Regions from separate parts of the Homo sapiens genome. Here region 1 is linked to region 2. The links are contacts of gene promoters, found by promoter capture Hi-C in blood cells and fetal thymus (Javierre and others, 2016). All regions are on one chromosome and are shown on one strand. Each heading gives the region's core, a stretch centred on a gene start or on the middle of the fragment in contact. The rest is flanking DNA. Distances are from core to core; before and after follow the strand shown. Region 1 overlaps AAK1 (AP2 associated kinase 1). Region 2 holds the start of PCBP1-AS1 (PCBP1 antisense RNA 1).

Region 1 (2,700 bases), core at 130-2,629, 450 kb before region 2:
GCAGTGCGACATCTTTTTGTCTTACCCAGCACCTGCTCCTTGGGGTTCTTGCAATTCCTTATGAAAAAGCACAGACCAATACCCACGCTAGAGAAAAAGAGATCATCAGCGGAATGTGGTGGTAATCTGGTCTGTGTTTTGAAGCCTCTCACACCACTCCTCCCTAAACTGCCTAGCCACCGCTCTGGGCACACAGGGTACAACTCCTGTGGTCCTTAAACAACTCTGGCTAGAACTGTAGATAAGTCAGCACTCGGGGACTCACAGAGAAGAGAGTCCAGGGAAGGAGCATGGCTACCCAAAACGTCTGTTAAGCCTTTAAGGAGCTGGTGAGGACTCTGCAAAGAACATCTGGCTCTGTCCCCTAACAATGGGGGAAAGGAATTGCTTCAGATTGCTGCAGCTCAACTAGCTTTCACATTGCTCCCACTCCCCTTTAACACACACACACACACACACACACACACACACACACACACTCTCTCTCTCTCTCTCTCTCTCTCTCCCCCCCCACATATATACATATGATGTATAACGTTGCTGGTAAGTAATGGCTACCATTTATTGAACACCTGAAAATGTTAATTATATATATTGCCTCATTTAATCTTCATGACCAGCCCATTAAGCAGTGGTTCTCAAACTTGACCTTGCGTCAGAATCTCTCCAGGAACTTATTAAGCCCCACACCCACAGCCTACAGAGTGAGGCCTGAGAATCTCCATTTCCAACAAGCTCGCAGGTGATAAGTATGCCCCACTTTGAGAACCACTGCCACAGGGAAACAGAGATTCAAGAGTGGTTTGGAATGTCTTGCCTACAGTTCCACAGCTAGTAAAGAACAGATCCAGAATTTGAACCTAGATCTGTCTGACTCTACAGACAGTGCTGGTAACCATGCTACTGTATGTGTGAATGTATGCCTCATCTTCCCAAATTCATTGGCAGATCCTTAAAGGCAGATGTCAATCACACTATAGACCTCCCTCATCCATCTCAGAACTTCATAGGGTCTTTGGACTTGGTAGGTGCTACATAAATACTTTGTATACTGGCTCCTACATATCTACATACTTCTAAGAGCCACAAATTCAAACTCAACTTAAGCCAAAGAACACAAAAAGGGCGCATAGCCAGACCCAGTTTTACGTGACATTCTCTCTCGCTACTCTGTCTTTGCCCATGGTGCCACCACACTAACTCCTACTCACTCTTCAGTCACTTCCTTCAGAAATCCTGGGCTCCCTAAAACTGGGGGCCACTGCACCCTAAGTTTATCTCTATGATGGCATTTACCAATCCACTATAACTGGCTATTTTCCATCTCTTAAAGCAGTTGGTAAAAGCTAGCATCTAGTTTAACAGTATACCCCCAGAGCCTAGCACAGCACCTGGCACTTCACAGGCAACTCCATAAACTGTTGAATGAATAAATGCAGAGCTACAAGTCCTAAATTCTGTGTAAAAATATCACAATACGTGATGCGCAGTTCTCAAAGATGAATCCCAGAGAAGAGGAAGGCAGCCTAGGTAACAAAGACCAATTTTGCCTTTTCTTTTCCCTATCACTTCTCTCACACTTGGAGAACATGCACCGCTTAGGGCAGCATCATCCGTGATGAGACAACATCCTAGCTGAACAAAACGCTCGTGGGCTATAAGGTCAGCAGAGGCCATTCAGAGGGGAGGAAAGTGTTCTGTGGCCCTTCGTTTCTCCTGATTTCTCTCTGACACACTCTCCTTTTCACTGTTTCTCCACCCCACTGCAGTTAAGGGCTTTGGCACAGGGATGAAAGAGACAGATCAGACTCAAGGGTGCGGATCTGGCAGCGGGCACAGAAGCATCTCCTAGCCTGCACCAAAGTCCACGGGAAAGATCCAAGGGGACAGTGACTCTGGCCCCAGATAAAGCGCAGCTAGAACAGTACTGAGATTGGAAGAGCAATAATTTCACATGGACATTAACTGTCAGAGATCTTTTTTAAAAATCATGTTTTTAAAGTACAGACTTCAACTCTATTCCCAGAAAACTGGGCCCTGCTGAATCCAGTGCTTACACAAGCTGAGAGCCAAACACAGCTTCTTCCTCTTCCAAACCCACCCACCAGCCCGCAACATCCACCATGGTAAGCATTTCCCAGGCCCAGGTCAGGACCCTTGCTTCAACTTTAGCTTGCAAAAGGCCCCTTTTTAAAGAGGCCTCTTAGCTTTCTCTCTTCCCTTGCTAATAAAACTGTTCCCTACCATCACCATGTTGCAGTAAGAGAGACCTCTCCCTTCTTCCAACCCCTCTCGGTCTATAACACAACCTACAGCAGGTTGGCCCCATCCAATCAGTCTGAATTGCTTCATGCCAAGGAAATTGCTGCTTTTATTAAAAATAAAAGCACACTAGGCAGGCGAAGGGCTGTGAAAAGTATGAGTCTGGCATAATTATGAAGGTCGAGGTTAAGGTTACCAAAAGAGACATGCAAAGATTTCCCGAAAGCCTGGGGGAATCAAGATGTATATCTACGTGAGTATAGACACACAGATGAAACACAGAGGGAATTTATGCAGCAGATCTAAATAACATCCTCTCTGATAGCGAAAAAACAAAATCAGAGCCACTCTCAAGTAATTTTTCTTTTGATTAAAAAAACAAAAAACAAAACCTAAAGCGAGAAGGAAGAGGGGCCTACTAGACTGAGTTCAAAATAA
Region 2 (2,700 bases), core at 180-2,679:
ACCTTGAATTAAGCACTTCATCTTTATGTTTGTCTTCCTCTGTTTAAAAGAGAGAGAGAGAGAGAGAGATAAGAACACCTACCTCAGAGGACCATGGTAAAAATTAAAGATAGAATACGGTGAACTGCCTTGCATCGGATGTGCTGGCACTGGCCAATGCACAATAAACGCCTGTCCCTTCTAGACTAAAAATGAACACTTAATTGTGGTAAACTATTAATAAGATTCACCGGCCAACTGTCCTATGAAAAAGTCAGAGGCACTGTAGTCTCTTCGTAGCTCTCGTTCTCTCCAGCACAACAGCCCATGCTAGGAAGTCTAGAAAAGCAGTAACTTATCTCATTCCTTAAATTAAACAGAGGTTTCTAAATGCTTTGGTACTGTGGGGACCCAAATTATCCCTTGATACTGCCCCCCTATTATCCACTATTAAGCTTTAAAAAGGCGAGAGATTAAATATTGTGCCCACATTTTACAGTCATTCGCGTTCCCGTTTCAAATTAAAGGGAGGAAAACGCGTTAAAATTAGGCCTCCGACCTTCAGACCAGCCTGTGGGCTTTTTTAAGTCATAAAACTCGCGGAGGTGGAAGGCCCCGGGGAGGAAGAGGGGTGCATTCTAGAGCTTTCGGGCCGACCCCAATTTCTCGTTGGCGACGAATGCTAACCACGTGTCGCCATTTTGTGTTCAGGAAACATGGCGGCCGCCCCAAGGGTAAGGAACAGGGGAGGCGGAGTAGCGCCACGTTAGCCGCTTTCCCTGAGAGATTGTGAAGCACGTTGCGCACGGGGCCCTTTCTGGTCTGGCTTAGCCCAAGGAGGAAGGGGAAAAGGCAGAAATCACAACTCATAGGCCAGCGTCTTGAGCGACACTTCCTCAGCGGGAAGAACCGGCAAAAAAGGCCTTCCAAGATGGCGGGCCCTGACGGGGCCGCCCCCCTTGAGCCTGGCGCAGTGGCTGCGCCCATGGGCCCGAAAAGCAGCCGCGGGAGCCCAGGCCGCGCGGGGAAAGCCGCAGAAACGTCCTGAAGCCCTGGCCGGCAGCCCCTGAACAAACGAGGCCTCCACAGGCGTACACTATTGTTTCTAATGTCGGAAAAGGGTGCCGCGGTGGAAACGACACAAGGGCAGGAGGTGGGGTTTCTGTGGCTTTAACCGAAAGAAACTTGCGAAACGCAAACAAAGCATTATGTAAATGGACGCCATTCTTTTTAGGACCACGTTTCTAGCACGCCCCACAAACAGCAGAGCCGCGATTCGGCAGGCGGCCGTGAGTGGGTTTCGGTCTTTCTGCCCACCGGCCGCCGCCGGGGAGCAGGAGCTGGGGTGGGGGATCCATGCAGGGCGCCCGGACGCCGGGGACGAAAGGGCCCCACGTGCCCGCCCGCGCGCACCCGCTCCGCAGGCCTCGCCTCGCCGCCCCTCCCCCCCGGAAGAGGGCTGCTGCCCCTCCCATCCCCCCACACCCTCGCGCACGCGCTCTGGTCACCTCACGCGCATGTTTTAAACCCGCGGCGTCCCGGCTTGTGCCTGCAGTTTCCGCCGGGGCTGCCCATGTCGTTCCGCGCACGAGCCCCTCATGTAGGGCAGGAAAATAATGTCTATCCCGCATACACAGCACTAGTATTTTCAGTCACCCGCCAGTGCCGTTAGAGTTAATAAAATACGTCATCATTTTAAAACTTTGCCGGACTCACAGCTTCCGCCCATCGTGCGCTTCATTTTCACTACTGCAGTGTCAGAAGGTTTTTTTTTTAAGGACCATGTAAGGGTTGGCGCAATCTTGTGACCTAAAAAAGACGGGTCCTCATTTTTTTTCAAGGGGTCCTGCGCAGCAAGCACTTCCGGGGTCAGAGGGTACGCGGGGTTGAAAGCGGGCTTCCCGCCCCGCCCAGACCGCCGAGGCTGCCGCCGGAGTCGCCACCGCCGCGCCCTCGCCCACCCGCCCGCCCGCCGCTCCCGGCCCCGCTCGCCCCCTCCGCCGCCGCCGCCCGCCCCTGCGACTACGCTGCGGCCTCCCGCCCGCTCCCGCTCGCTCCCGCGGCCCTCGCTCGCCTCGCGCCGGCAGTTTTGGGCCTACACCTCCCCTCCCCCCGCCAGCCGCCAAAGACTTGACCACGTAACGAGCCCAACTCCCCCGAACGCCGCCCGCCGCTCGCCATGGATGCCGGTGTGACTGAAAGTGGACTAAATGTGACTCTCACCATTCGGCTTCTTATGCACGGAAAGGAAGTAGGAAGCATCATTGGGAAGAAAGGGGAGTCGGTTAAGAGGATCCGCGAGGAGAGTGGCGCGCGGATCAACATCTCGGAGGGGAATTGTCCGGAGAGAATCATCACTCTGACCGGCCCCACCAATGCCATCTTTAAGGCTTTCGCTATGATCATCGACAAGCTGGAGGAAGATATCAACAGCTCCATGACCAACAGTACCGCGGCCAGCAGGCCCCCGGTCACCCTGAGGCTGGTGGTGCCGGCCACCCAGTGCGGCTCCCTGATTGGGAAAGGCGGGTGTAAGATCAAAGAGATCCGCGAGAGTACGGGGGCGCAGGTCCAGGTGGCGGGGGATATGCTGCCCAACTCCACCGAGCGGGCCATCACCATCGCTGGCGTGCCGCAGTCTGTCACCGAGTGTGTCAAGCAGATTTGCCTGGTCATGCTGGAGACGCTCTCCCAGTCTCCGCAAGGGAGAGTCATGACCAT

The links. Contacts are between HindIII fragments. The CHiCAGO score rates a contact against its expected background, and 5 or more counts as called.
Region 1: a contact is called between a fragment that was not itself captured here and the fragment with the promoter of PCBP1-AS1 in region 2, in 1 of 17 cell types (naive CD8 T cells). The highest score is 5.1, in naive CD8 T cells.

Annotation. Positions count from the first base shown.
Region 1 is chr2:69,639,576-69,642,275 of GRCh38, forward strand. The region is part of intron 2 of AAK1 (AP2 associated kinase 1); the gene reads right to left. Among named protein-coding and RNA genes, the nearest start is that of AAK1, 2.8 kb to the right of the region's middle. The HindIII fragment of the contact is 3,236 bases long and covers 1-2,700 here.
Region 2 is chr2:70,085,586-70,088,285 of GRCh38, forward strand. It overlaps PCBP1-AS1 (PCBP1 antisense RNA 1), which reads right to left and starts at 1,430. Exons shown (of 11, transcript NR_033872.1): 1 at 1,393-1,430; 2 at 1-39. PCBP1 (poly(rC) binding protein 1) reads left to right here and starts at 1,892. Exons shown (of 1, transcript NM_006196.4): 1 at 1,892-2,700. The coding sequence starts at 2,159. It also overlaps a transcript of ASPRV1 not described here. RefSeq lists enhancers at 489-628, 769-858, 899-1,108, 2,314-2,700 and silencers at 1,319-1,468, 1,919-1,978. The HindIII fragment of the contact is 2,991 bases long and covers 433-2,700 here.